3 separate regions of the Homo sapiens genome follow, and all the other regions are linked to region 1. Evidence: promoter capture Hi-C in 16 types of primary human blood cells and fetal thymus (Javierre and others, 2016). All regions are on one chromosome and are shown on one strand. Each heading gives the region's core, a stretch centred on a gene start or on the middle of the fragment in contact. The rest is flanking DNA. Distances are from core to core; before and after follow the strand shown.

Region 1 (4,814 bases), core at 1,818-4,317:
CACCATGTTGCCCAGTCTGGTCTCGAACTCCTGACCTCAAGTGATCTGCCTGCCTCAGCCTCCCAAAGTGCTGGGATAACAGGTGTGAGCCACCGCACTCAGCCCTATTTTTCTTAAGTACAAATTGTATATAAGGGTGCCTGGCCAGTGCACCACACAAGGTTGATGTAAAAGGCAACAAAAGTGAACTGGCCGTGACAACTGTAAGGAGCTGGACAGCTGATTTTTGCCAGATTGAATGTAACCAGGTCATCCCAGCAGTGAACATGGTGCACACATGCCAGCCCAGCCAGGAAGGCACTGCCAGGAGAATGGTTCTCGGGGAACTTCACTCTCTCCCCTAGGAAAGCTGGATTCAGAGCCTCCACAGTGGTTTGGCTGGCCTAGGCTCAAAAAATGCCTCCAAGGCAGGCCTGCCAGTCTAGGCCACCCATGGTGGCTCATGCCTGTAAACCCAGCACTTTGGGAGGCTGAGATGGGATGGGTACTTGAGCCAAGGAGTTCGAGACCAGCCTAGGCAACATAGCGAGACCTGTCTCTACAAAAAATCAGCCAGTATGGTGGTGCACGCCAGTTCTCCTAGCTACCTGGGAGACTGAAGTGGAAGGATTGCTGGAGCCGGGGAGGTTGAGGCTGCAGTGAGTCGTCATTGCACCTTTGCACTCCAGCCTGGGCAACAGAGCAAGACCCTGTCTTTAAAACAAAACAAACAAAAAAACAGCCAAGGGAAGGCCACTTTGTCTCCCAGGTGATGCCGGGAGGGAAGTTTCCGAGGACTGAACAGCTTCCTCTCTTCTCCCTCCAGGTCCCTGTGCACTTTGCACACAGGTTGGCATTCGGGTGTGGGTGGCAGAGTGCCATCTGGTACAGCATCCAGCACTAGGTTTCAACTCTGTGTTACAGAACCAGGAATGGTGGTAGTGCACAAGTACTCACTTATTAGAGGGCAGAGCATTTAGGTGAGACAGACCCCATGGGGTCCAGATTGGATGAGTGAGTGGGGAAGAACCTCCCACAGTATATCCTGAACACAGAAGGATCCCTCCAAGACTCTCACTGGCCCCCACCCCATTGGTTCCGGTCCCCAGGAAGAGGAAGGGCTCAGATCAGCATAACAGTGAATCACCGAGCACTTCCACACAATGACCCCTCCAGGAGGGTGGAGAAGCTTGTCTGGCAACAGCCTACACAAACGGCAATTCTGAAGAGCAACAAACAAACCAGTTTAGCCCCAATTCCCATTTTGCATAAGAATGCGCCCCACAAAAACAACACCCGAAGAACATTAGTTGATCACCACTGGTTGATCGTTACCAGTTGCAAACACTAAAGTTTGAGCCAAGACAGAATTTTAAAAGTCCCCTGGAAGGAACTTTGGGTAAAGTGGTTTTGTGGAAACTGGTGTTAAAGTGTCATTAGACTGAACTCAAACGTTCCATGGGGAGCACCAGATGTTTCAAGCAACAGATCTTGGTAAACTTGGTTTCAGAAAGAAGTTAAGCCAGAGAAGGGTTTGGACCCATAAACCAAAGGGAACTTGTTAGTCACTAAGTGACTGCCAAGGTACCTGTTTTCGTTATGCTAATAAGAGGTTACACAAATTCCAGGAAGGAGGATTGCTAGGTGCAGGGGATGGTTAGGTCACAGGGGGACCGCCTGCCGGCTGGCCTCTGAATAGACCCTGACCATGGCTCCTTAATCCAGGGAAGCAGCAAAAACGAACAGCAATTGGGCTGAAAACAGGGCGAAGGTCCTTGCGTTAGGCCGGGAGAGTCGTTCTTAAAAACATGCATCCTCCCAGAGGTCACGGCCTCCTTCACATCGTCCAGGTCGGGCACGGGTCCCAGAGAACGACACCCCAGTGTACATGAGGTACTGAGCGAAGACAGTGGGCATTGCTTCTCCCCTCCCCATCCCCGAACTACTCTTGCCAGCCATCACACACAAGGAAAGGTATTCTCTATAACCAAACGGATGATTTCGTCCACTTCTTCCTTAAACACCTAAAAACCACAGCGACAGCACTAGTAGCCCTTCATTCGGAATCAGAGCAGCAGCATCTGCGAACCTGCAAAGACCAGGGGCTAAGGGTGCCAGGACACAGCGAGAGTGGCCCCTGCTCAGATCCGACACAAGCCTCGGGGGCTCCCGGCGGCGTAGACGCCGCACTTCGCTCGCTTCCCGCTCTGCACCTACCTCGCTCGCACATCCGCCAGCGTCCGGCACCTGAGCCGTCGGTTCCGCGGGTGCCTTCTCCTCTTCCCCGGCGTCCAAGGGGCCACTCCGAGCCGCTCGGGGGTCCCCGCCGCCCCCCTGCACAGCCTGGCTGCCGCCGTCCACGCTGGCGCCGGCTCCTCCGGTGGACGAGGCGGCGGCGGCGCCGAGCAGCCCGTGGGCCTCGTCCGCGCTCCCGGCAGCCACGCTGTGCACCAGCCATGCATCCACGCTGGTGCGAGGGACGAAGGGGACCCCGAGCGCGCGCACCTCCCGGAGCAGCTGGCCCTCGGGCGGCGCGGCAGGGTCCAGCTCCCGGCCCTTGGGGTGCAAGTGGCCCGCGCGCCCCCACCCTCCCGAGGCCGAGAAGGGGCTGAGCGCGTAGGCGGAGCTGGCCGGGCCGCCCAGGAACAGCAGCTCGTCCTGCAGCAGGGTGGGCGGCGGCAGCAGCAGGTAAAGATCTAGGTCTACGCGGAGCCCCGCCAAGCTCAGCAGGAGGGTGAGGTGCAGGAGGCCGCCGCCGGCCGACCACCACCGCTTCAGGTGCTTCATCGCCGCCGCGCGCCCGGGAACGCCCCTGCCGGCGCCCGCGGGTCCCGGCGCCCCAGCCGCCGGGGTGACACGTGCGGACCCCGCGCGCCGCCCGCACCTGCCTGGAACCCAGATAAGCGAAACAATGGACCGGGGCGCGTGGCGGCCGTCGCGGGTTCCCAGCACCGGGCACAAAGGCGTTCCCTCGGCAGCCGGCACCGTGCCTGGCACCGCCGGGGATCGGGAGAAGCGAAGAAGGAGCCACCTGAGCGCCGAGCCCGTTCGCCCAGCCGCCCGCAGCCCGGCGCGGTGGCCAAGCTCCGCCCCCGGCCGCGGGCGCAGCCGACAGGAACACGCCCCCTGCCGCCCGGGGCCCGCGCCCGTGGGAGGGGCCGCACGGGGCGGGGCTCCCCGAGCTCAAAGCCTCTTTATGTCCGGGGAACGCAAGGCTTTCTGGGAGCAGAAGTTGTTCTGGGCACCAAGTGGCCCCTTGCCACCCTGTGGCCGTGAGCTGGGCCATCCTTGCTGAAAGCCAAGGGCGGGAGTTGGGGTGGAGGGCTAGGTGGTGGGTAGCTGGGTGGGAAGGGACAGGATGTGTAGACTGGGCGGAGAGTGACTGGGCAGCTACGAGGGGCCTGGCAGCTTGCAACGGGCTTCCACCCCAACGTGAGGACACTTGGCGGGCAGAGTGGGCAAGAGTAACCTCTCTGTCTCAGTTCCGCTATCTGTAAAATGGGGATCATAGAGCCTGTCAAACAGGGATGTGTTGAGGTCAGATGAAATATTTCGTGTAAAGTTCGGAGTTTCACATATAAATTCCACCGTTGCCATTGGGATCAGTCATCCCACCACTCCGCACACCCCAGTCCCAGCCTCACAGACCCCTCTCTCTTCTCTGGGCGTGCTCTGCATAGTGCTAGACCTCCTCTCGGTATCCTTTGCTCCTTATCCGTTGTTTCCTTGAGGGTTGACAGCACCAGCTCTACAGTTACCCTGAGTGAGTTCAAGTCCCCCCTCCACTTGAGGGGCGACCTTGGACAAATCTCTCCTTTTCTCTGTGCCTCAGTTTTCTCACTGTAAAATGAGACTAATAATAGCACCTCCCCAGCAGACCTTTTGTGAGCCCCAAATGAGATAATGCATGTAAACCACCGACCACAGCACTGCATGGGTAGGAAGTGCTCCCTGCTACCCATTGTTTGTGTTACTCACCCTCAAGGCTTAGCTCCAAAGCTACATCCTCTGAATTTTCACCAGTTGGCATTAATCTCTCCCCCATCTGTTGCACCGTGATTTCTCCGTTTGCCAACATTGTAACAGTTGGCCCATTCAACTCTGTGTTGTAGATGAGAATCGGTCTGATTTGCCCATTGTAAATTCTTGAGGACAAGGAACCTGTTTGGTTCACCTTTGTCCATGCACAGTACCCAGCACTGGGCCTTGCAAGGGTAGGTTTTACTAACCTTAGCTCCCTTCCTTGGAAGAAAAGGGGACAGGAGGGGATGCCCAACTGAGAATGGGCAGTTGTGTAAAAAGTTGAGCAAGACTTGTTTTAAAAGGCCCCTCCCTCCACCTGGCTTTCTCATCTCTCTCCTGGGCTAGTGTAGTAAGAAGAGAAAAGAATGGGGACCAGGGGAGCAGAAACAGGGGAGCAGAGGAAAGTTGCTTCCTCTGTGTTAAGCCTTGGAAGATGGGTTGGGGTGGCAAAGAGGATGAAGAAAGGTGATTGCCAGGTTATCAAGACCCCGTTCACAGCATTTAGTCTTTGAACAGCGGATTTAGAGTCTCAGCTTAGTAAATGCTGCCTTCAGCTTTTTACTGAGAACCTACTAACTGCCTGAGGCTGTGCTGGAGGCATGAAGGATATGAAACGGAGTTCTTTCCTTCCGTAAGCTTATGGTTTTACTAGGGAGATGAGATAAAAATTTGTGAGACACTAAGAAACAAGAGAAATAATGTACTCAATTGCCAAAATACTTAGATGTAAATTACTTCAAGGTTTATATAGGGAGCTCTAAAACTATTGAGAGTAGAGGCGGTGCCTTCTTCAAGGCGGTGCCCTCCAGAAT
Region 2 (4,783 bases), core at 2,064-4,563, 530 kb before region 1:
ATAGTTTAAGAAAAGATGCATACTTTCAATATAAATAAACATTTAGGCAAAACAAGAAATAAAATCCCATGCATTATAATGAAGAGTGTTTTAATTTTGTTTTTTGTTTGTTTGTTTGTTTTGAGATGGAGTCTCACTCTGTTGCCCAGGCTGGAGTGCAATGGCACGATCTCGGCTCACCGCAACCGCTGCCTCCCAGGTTTAAGCGATTCTCCTGCCTCAGCCTCCCAAGTAGCTGAGAGTGTGCCACCACACCCAGCTAATTTTTGCATTTTTAGTAGAGATGGGGTTTCACTGTTCTCTGGTCAGGCTGGTCTCGAACTCCTGACCTCAGGTGATCTGCCCGCCTCGGCCTCCCAAAGTGCTGGGATTAGAGGCATGAGCCACTGCACCCGGCAAGTGTTTTAATTTTGTAAATGTAATGGCAGAAAAACATTTAACTAGCTTGGGGATTAGGTTGTTTTCATTTAAAAATCACTACAGAAATATAGTTTTATTTAAAAATTCAATATATTATTTTCTGTTTTGCAAGAAAGCCTTGATGGAATGTTAGCTGTGCTCAGTCAACCTGGGGGTGATTTATTTATTTTAGGCCTCTTTTGAAAGTTATACAAATCTAAGCCTTTATTTTTTTTTTTCTTCTGGTGCAAATCAAATGTTGCAATAAAGAAAGAAGAGTAGGCAGATACTGTGCCCTTCCTCCTTCCCTTTTTAACATTTTCCAATTAGCAGCTATCATGTGACCCCTGGCTGAGATAGCCCCTCCTTCAAAGTGTCCAGCATTTCCTTAGGTTTCACCTTTGAACCTCACTAATAATAAATCTAAACACCGCCTGCCTTAAAAGGCAAGCCAGTACTTTTTGCTTTATACTTCTATTCACATAGGGTTGCTGCTGTTTTTTTATGTGTTAAAATTAAAAGCTTCAGTAGTTCAGTGGAGATTTGGAAATCTCTTTTTTCTCTTAAAAAATGGATCAAATTTATAATGACTGATGAAAGCAGAATTTGTGATTTTAATGACAGTTGTATTGTTAGTGAATTAACAATTGGTTTCAGATTCATTTGATGGGGGAAAATCATATTTGAGATAGAAAACCTGTATTTCCTTAAGAAATTGGGTTGTTTAAAATAATGCTAAATATTTTTGTTAGTTTTCATTTCATTTTTATTACCACTAAATAAAACAGGAACATAATATTATAGCTAACAGTATTTTCCTAGAACCATGTTTTTGAAATTTTATCATTTTAATAGCAGGATCCAGATTATATAGCAATAGGTATATTCTGAGGTCCCAAATGCCTTTTTGGTTATGTTATTCTATCTTGCTCTTCTGGATTTCTATCCTCTATTAGTTTATCTTTCAATCTGTACTCATCATTAATTTGCAAACCACATTGCTATACTTACTTTTAAAGCAATAAACTATTTTTAGAGATTTAATAACAGACAAGCTATACTTCAGAAAAGAGGCACAGTACTTTGATATTAAAAGAAAAATGAGAGTTAAGAATTCTGGAATATTTTATCTAGTCTAGGGCATATGCGACTAGCTTTGCAGCCTTTGAGAAACTTTTTATTAAGTCAAACACAGGAAATGTAGGTTAAGACTGTGGTCACCAATATAAAATAAAAGGGTACTTTTTGGTGTATATTGGTTGGAGTTTCAAGCAGTACCTCCCTTTATATCTGTTTGGTTGACTTTTTCCAGTGATTGGTGAATTGTGACTGTCATTGACCATTTGCTTCTCATTGTAAGAATGTAAAGGTTAAGTTACTATGGCTTTTTTTGGCTTCAAACCTATGTTAATAAATGAAATGAAAGTCTTGTTGAGCTTTATTGGCAGAGGGAAATAAGTTACTTTTTAGCTGTCTTAGTTTTTCATTTGTAACCGTATGACCCAGTATGCCACAAATAGCGTGGCCAACTGCTGCAGAGTAACTAGGATATCTGAATGTGGGACATGCATTGTTGACACTAAGCTAGCTCCAAAATGTTATATTTTATAGCCTTTTGATAAGAAGAAGTGTTTGTATTTGTGCTTGCATTTGTTTGCTCCGATGACATTTAGTTTGTATGCTGTCAGTATGGATGTATGGTCTAGAGTACACTGGAAGCATTAACCAGGCCAACCTCCTATTTAGTACCCATCTCCTCCTAGGAGTGAAAAGCAGTTTATGGACACAACACCATGTCAGAAAATGTTCTAGTTCTACTCATAGGACTCCTCTTGTTATCTGTTTGTGAACAATATGCTTAAGTACTTCCCTACTTTCTCTTACATAAATTGGAGGAAACATTCCAGAAAAATGTTGGCAGATGAAAGCAAAAGGTGCTTATAGGAGGCAGGCTGGCAGCTGCAGCCCTTGCAATGGCCTGACAGGTAGAGGAAAAGCCAGAAGGCAGTGTCAGAGAGGCAAGGTGAGCAGAGGTGGCAGTGGAGGGGGCTGCTTTGGAAAGGAGCCCACCTGTAAGGCCTATGTGATTTACTTCAGCATGAATAACTAAGAGTTTGGCAGCAGCAAAACAAAACCTTAAAGAAAAGCACTACGTTGATATTTTTTTTAATTCTCAGTTGAACAATTCATGATTTCAGCCTTGAAAATGAGGAACTCCCTCAGTGTGTATAGCATACTTTCACTCTTTTGAGATGTCTTCTTCCTCATCCCTTTAGAACATGGAGCTAGATATTCCAGGGAAATCATTAGGCATAGAGACTAGAGATAGACTACTGATTAAGAAAAGTTTTAGAGTCGATATTTAGTAAATTATAGATAAGTGACAGATGTTCATTGAGTATTCAGCTATCAAGGAACAACCAGCATGCCAGGTATTGTGGCTCACTCCTGTAATCCCAGCACTTTGGGAGGCCGAGGCAGGAGGATCACTTGAAGTCAGGAGTTCGAGACCAACCTGGCCAACATGGTGAAACCCCGTCTCTACTAAAAATAGAAAAATTACCTGGGCGTGGTGGTGCGCACCTGTAGTCCCAGCTACTTGGGAAGCTGAGGCAGGAGAATCACTTGAACCCGGGAAGTAGAGGTTGCAGTGAGCTGAGATTGTACCACTGCACTCCAGCCTGGTGACAGAGCATGACTCCATCTCAAAAAAAAAAAAAAAAAGAACAACCAGTTAAAATTGTAATAAAATGTTATATTCCTCAAATACTTGTTCTCTTTGGGAGAAGATAAGATTCTCTTTGGAAGAGCAGGGTGGAGACCTGCTCATAATAATCAGATTGCCTTATAGTGCGTCCCAAAGTACTCTGTTTTTTTGTTGTTGCCATAATACTTTGCTATACCAATTAGTGGGCAGGGAGTGGGGGAGGGAATGAAAAAGTGTTTATTGAGCATTTACAATGTCCTGTTCTAGGTACTTAATATGCTTTCACACATATAATTAATATAATAACCCTGTGAAGTAGATGATGTTATAATTTTACAGATTAGGAAACTGATGTGCAGTAAGGTTATTATGGAAATTATCTGAGGATACGCAGCTATTAAGTGCCTTCTCCAGGTATCAATACAGGTCTGACCCTAAAGCCTTTTCTCTTTCTACTTTGCTACGGTTAAGTGGGACTTGATTAGGACTTTAACTTTTCTTCTATATCAGAGGTTAATTGTAATTATCACATCCCAGTTCTAAACAACAGCGAACCATGTTATTGACAGTATCTTTTACATAATTAAATCTTGTATAGATGGTCAAAATTATTTCATTTTCTAATCAACAAATATTTGGTGAACACTCATGCAAAGTACTATTTTGAGCAGGATCCAGAAAAGCCACAAACTGTTATTCAAGGAGACTGCAATTAAGTCGAAGAGAAGACCAATGCATAAAATAGATAATAGCAATAAAACACAATGTAGGGTATCAGTGTTGTAGTCCTGGAGAATCCCAGAAGAAAGGGAAGTCAGTAAATACTGGAGTAAGTAAGTAATGAAAGATTCATAGGAAATGGAACTTGAACTGGAACTTTATGTATAAATGGAGTTTATTCATTTAACAAATATGAATGCTTATTTTCTGTGTCTATTACATATAAAACCTAGAAGAACGGCTGTGCTATGGAAAGGGGTGGATGGCTATATTGATGAAAGGGGAGCATAGAGCCAATAGACATCAGTCATTCAGGATCACTTCTTTTTTTTTTTTTTTTTTTTTATTGAGACAGAGTCTTGCTCTGTCACCCAGGCTGGGGTGCAGTGATGCAATTTCAGCTCACTGCAACCTCTGCCTCCCGGGTTCAAGCATTTCTCCTGCCTCAGCCTCCCAAGTAGCTGGGATTACAGGCTCCTGCCACCATGCCCGGCTAATTTTTTGTATTTTTAGTAGACATAGGGTTTCACCATGTTGGCCAGGCTGGTCTTGAACTCCTGACTTCAGGTGATCCTCCCGCCTCGGCCTCCCAAAGTGCTGGGATTACAGGCATGAGCCATCACTTCTCTTTCCTTACCTTGGAGAATGGTAGGCAGCCAGAGAAACCCTGTGAGAAACCAAATCAACCTGATGTTTCCAAGCTAGTTTTTCTACAGCAGCTTACACCACTTTTCCCTTATCTTCGCCTGTACCTTGTGTGTTAACCACACTCTCAACTACTTACTCTTCACTGAACACAGCACATTCTTTTATCTCTGCAGGCCTTCACGCCTGCCATGTATTGCTCCTTTCATTATTCCTTCTGGAGTCTCAGCCCAGCTGTCACTTTCTATGTAAAGTCTCTCAGATCCTGCTGTAGGATTAGTTGCTTCTCTTTTTACAAACTTTTTCCCTCTC
Region 3 (4,532 bases), core at 56-2,555, 980 kb before region 1:
CCAACATGAGAACCCTTTTGTACCCAGGGTCCCTTTATCAGGAGATTTACGAGACGCCAAACTGTTAGGGCAGTAATTATAGCCCCCATAAATTTAATTGCCCTGGCAGAGGCTTCAGGCCATGTGTCTTTGAAGCTTTTCTTCAGCCCCAATGCCCAGCACCATTCTTTATGGCTCTCGGGTGTTTCCCGTTGTCAATAGCCTGTGAAACATTTTCTTTGCCGTTTTATGTATCTTGCGTGAACTTGGTGTCAGGTTATTATATAATGATGATGTCCAATTGCTCTTCCCCACCCCACCTTCTCTCTCCTCCTCCTTTCCCTCTCTTCCGCTCCCTCCTCCTTGGCCTTCTATTTCGGGGTTCTGGGTTTTCAGTTAACCCCAGTTATAACGGAGGGGAGCCTAAGCGCTCTCGAACCGCCTACACCCGGCAGCAGGTCTTGGAGCTGGAGAAGGAGTTCCACTTCAATCGATACCTGACCCGGCGGCGCCGCATCGAGATCGCCCACACGCTCTGTTTGTCTGAGCGCCAGGTCAAGATCTGGTTTCAGAACCGGAGGATGAAGTGGAAGAAAGACCACAAACTGCCCAACACCAAGATGCGATCCTCCAATTCGGCCTCGGCCTCTGCCGGCCCACCAGGGAAAGCACAAACTCAGAGCCCACACCTCCATCCCCACCCCCACCCGAGCACCTCCACACCCGTTCCCTCCTCCATATAATCTTCTAGAGATCTTAACCAGTTTCTATCCCTTACCTGCTTTTCTCTTCTCTTCTCCTGCTCCGTTCCTCATCCACCCCTCCCCATCTGGACCATAATAGACACCAAAACAAACCCAAATTGGTGAAAAGAATAATCAAAAAGAAGACATTATCCGGTTAAGAGTCTGTGCTGGTTGCCACCCAAGAGAGAACAGTTGTCCAGGATGCTGGCTGGTGGAACAACCTGCTGGCCCGAAACAAGGCTGCCAGGTGTGGATACCTGAGAAGGACTACTTGGTATCAAATACTTTTGAGATGGCTACAGTCAGCTAGCTGGACAGCCCATGCTGAGTGGGGACATACACTTGCATCTTTGTTGAAAGCAGAAGAAGACAGACCCTTTCCCCACCTTCCTTACCTCCTCTTCCCCCATTAAGGCAGCTCATCCAAGCTTGTATTTAACTGAATAAATGAGTAGACATTGTGGACCTCACAAGATTATTTAATTCTTAAGATGTGTAGACCTTGATGGTAGGTGTGACATGTTAGTTTTTCTTACTTGCATTTATTTAAGACACTGTTACAGAGATACTGTTGTCCCCTTCTGGGGCACGGTCTTTGGGGAGAGGGGAGTGCATTTAGACTTATGTGGAACTGTACAAATTGTGATGTGGCTACATAGAAAGCCATGTGCTAAGAATAAACTCCATTTAAAAAACATTAAAAATCTAAGATTCATGTGTTTTCTAAGCTTTTCATTAAGAAAACAAAAGTCCTCTGGATTGAGATACTTGACCTTGCATGTAAAAACCTTGTAGATAGCTTGAGCTGGATTCACTTGGATTCTGACGGCTCACATAATTTGTGTGTGAGAGTGTGTGTATGTATGTTCAACTTGAGCTGAACTCTTGTCAAGCTTGGCCTACTGTGGAAAAGTTCCAAAGAGTAGGAAGGCTCTTGAGCTCTGAGAGGGCTCCTCTTCTTCCCAAACTTGGCCAGGCTTTCAGGCTTCAAGTCTCTGTAAGGCATAGAAACGTGTCCTTCCCTGCAATGAAAGTTGAAACCATGCAGTGCTGTGGGCCCAGGAGTTTCTGCAGCTGTTCTACACACTGAACTCTGAGCACACTTGGAAAGAAGTGGTCTCTTTGGTATTTGGTATTTGTTGCACCTTCACACTTAATCTGCCTGTTTCCCAGGAGATAAAAAATAGTTTGTGCAAAGGGTTGAGATTAGTTTTTGTTTCCTGGCTGTTCTTAAGGTCCTCTTCACTAACTACAGACTGGGAATTTTTGTTTGTTTGCTTGTTTGTTTCTCTTTTTTGAAGAAAGAGCTTTCAAATAAACTGAATTTTACAAGTACACTCTCCAATGTCTCTTCTGAGGAAAAAGCATAATATACCCCTAAAGTTCACCCCATGCAAAGTAGACCTGGGAGAGTTTACTGCTGGAAAATAGCCAAACTGGGTCACTTTCCTCAAATGCTTTGTGAATTTTCTGCTCGATTCCAGAGATCTAGATCCAAAAGGCTGAAAATCAAAACCCACTTCTCGATCTCTATAACCCTAGTATTTGTTTACTGATTTAGATTTGATGCTTACTGCAGGGAGTTCCCTACAATAAGACCACAAAAACCTGTGCACACTAGCCCCAGAATATTAGAACTGTCACCTGGCCTTGAAAAAGTGCAACTTTTAAGTAATGTAGTAATTTTAGCATAGATGGGAGTAAGTGCTCACCTGCCTCTGCAATATCAGAGAATTTTTAAACACATTTCTCTCATTAGTGGCAAAACCCTTTAGCCAGTGTCAGAGCTGGTACCCCTTTCACCCCTGCTGCCCTGTGTGTGATACAAACAAGGGTGATCCGTTCTATACCTACAAATCAGATTTGAGAGGAAAGTGATAGATACCAGTCTCTGAAGAGCCAAGAAAATTCGGGAGCAATCAAATACACACTTACCTTCCCAAATCAGGATAAACCTGGCATAAAGTGCATTTTATAAGGTGTGAACGGGTGCCAGGGATTTCTGGAGGCAATGCAACTGCTGCTGAAACTTATTAACCCTCCCCCTACTACACACACTTGTAAAACAAAATTAAATCACGCTGAAAATAGCAATTTTCCCAGGAATCATTAATCACCTCAAACAATAAATACTTCTTTGTAATTCAACAGCAATTCTGAAAGGCATTCTCTGGGAAAAGTCTGTGGAGGAGAGAGGGATCTTCTTGCAAATAATGTGGTCTCAGGCAAGGACACAGCATCTTGGCTGTCTGCTAAAAAAAAAAAATGCCTAGACTCTCAGTGGAAATTGAGTGTCAAGCTGCAAAATCTCAAATGGCAGACTATCATCATTTAAGGTAAATTCTTATATTTCTCCTTTGTGGGAAAAGAGGGGTATGGGAATATTCATTAGCTTCATGCTGCAGGCAGTTGTATGAGGATGAAAGGGGTGACTTTCTTTCACTTGCACTTATAAGTCCATCCAGAAAGGGAAGAGAGAGGATTGAGATCATTTTTCTGATATTCCAGGACAAGATGGCATTTTTGTCCCAACTGTATTGATTATTAAGGTATTGGTGAGTTTTACAAAACCCAGATTATAGAAAATGATCCAAATGATTGCCATTTCTTAAGTGTTGTTTTGCCTGCTTCAAATTGGCCTTTAAGGGAGCTTGTTATAAGAGATTAGAAAATCCCACTTTGTGCTTCAAAATCATGCATTGTCTGCCCTTTGCTAGGGCAACCATAAGAGTTCACCGAGAGGACAAATTTTCTATCTCATTAATTGTTTTTTTTTTTTAAGCAAACCCTACTGGCCCCTCAAATCCTTGACCTTTAAAGACAGTATTTTGTGTAAGCTCTATAATTTTACCAAAATGAGCCTTACACATACTCTCCTTTTCTCTCTTTCTCCCTCCCTCCAATACACACTCATCTGCTTTAGTCACAGAGCCAAGTTGTGCATGACTCCGGAGACAAAAGTTTTGTCAACATCTGAAATCGACCTAAATCGGATAGGAGACACTTTAATGGTCACAGTTTGAATTAAGTACTTAACACTCTCCCCCTTGAAGAAAAATGGCACTTTGCAGGCTTCCTTCCCTAGTTTTGCTGAAATCTATGATATACCCGGTGTTTTATTACAGCAGGAATTCAACTGTGACAGGCATAGTAGAGTACTTAATACCCAGGATGGAGCCATGGGAAGATTACCTAGATAGATGGGGGAGGAGGGAAGTCCCTTCGCATAGCATCTCTGACTTCATACCCAGTTGTCCCAGCGGGCCCCATTCCCCTATATCTCAGCCTCCTCCCTATGGGGTGGGGTGGGGTGGATATCACCATCTTTCCTCTGTCCCCCTGTTCCCCTAAGCTTCCAAACTCTGCTCTCCTCACTGTTGCCTTCCCTCTAGCAGTTCCCACATAGAAACAGATCAATGACTCTTTAGAATGAAAGAGAAGAAAAACCCAAAGAATCAATGTAGCAAAAAAGCCTGGGGCTTCCCCTCTGAATGAGTGGGTTCTGTGCAGGCAGTAGGCTGCCCTTGGCACTCCCCTGGTCTCTGCATCCCTAAACACAGTCTTGTATAGCAGAACACAGGCTCACCTTTCTCAACTGCTGCTGTGTTGCCCCTTCCCTATATTATACACTGTCCCAAGAATAATTCTGCTTCGTGTTCCAAAGAAACACATGGGCTGGAAACAATAGGAGGAAGAGACGTGTGTTCTGTTCCCTTGATGGTATGAGGGAGGCTGCTGTGGCTGTCTTGAAACCCTCTAGGCTGCAACTTACAGAACTCTGGCACCTCTTCTGAAGACTCCAAAATC

What was found. The method cuts DNA at HindIII sites, captures the fragments that hold promoters and counts their contacts. A CHiCAGO score of 5 or more calls a contact.
Region 2: a fragment that was not itself captured here is called in contact with the fragment with the promoter of NFE2L3 in region 1 in 2 of 17 cell types (M1 macrophages and naive CD8 T cells); the score reaches 5.7 in M1 macrophages.
Region 3: a contact is called between a fragment that was not itself captured here and the fragment with the promoter of NFE2L3 in region 1, in 1 of 17 cell types (fetal thymus). The highest score is 5.6, in fetal thymus.

Annotation. Positions count from the first base shown.
Region 1 is chr7:26,150,451-26,155,264 of GRCh38, reverse strand. It overlaps NFE2L3 (NFE2 like bZIP transcription factor 3), which reads right to left and starts at 3,067. Exons shown (of 4, transcript NM_004289.7): 1 at 2,197-3,067. The coding sequence starts at 2,766. RefSeq lists enhancers at 1,979-2,168, 1,519-2,312, 2,313-3,107 and silencers at 2,289-2,358, 2,369-2,618, 2,729-2,798, 2,809-2,878, 2,899-3,278. The HindIII fragment of the contact is 3,470 bases long and covers 1,171-4,640 here.
Region 2 is chr7:26,676,783-26,681,565 of GRCh38, reverse strand. All of the region lies in intron 11 of SKAP2 (src kinase associated phosphoprotein 2), which reads left to right. Among named protein-coding and RNA genes, the nearest start is that of LINC02860, 41 kb to the right of the region's middle. The HindIII fragment of the contact is 4,779 bases long and covers 924-4,783 here.
Region 3 is chr7:27,125,415-27,129,946 of GRCh38, reverse strand. HOXA3 (homeobox A3) reads left to right here. Exons shown (of 6, transcript NM_153631.3): 3 at 2,877-3,061. HOXA4 (homeobox A4) reads left to right here. Exons shown (of 2, transcript NM_002141.5): 2 at 376-1,422. The coding sequence ends at 722. HOXA-AS2 (HOXA cluster antisense RNA 2) reads right to left here. Exons shown (of 4, transcript NR_122069.1): 4 at 1,187-1,747. Among named protein-coding and RNA genes, the nearest start is that of HOXA4, 3.1 kb to the left of the region's middle. The HindIII fragment of the contact is 300 bases long and covers 1,156-1,455 here.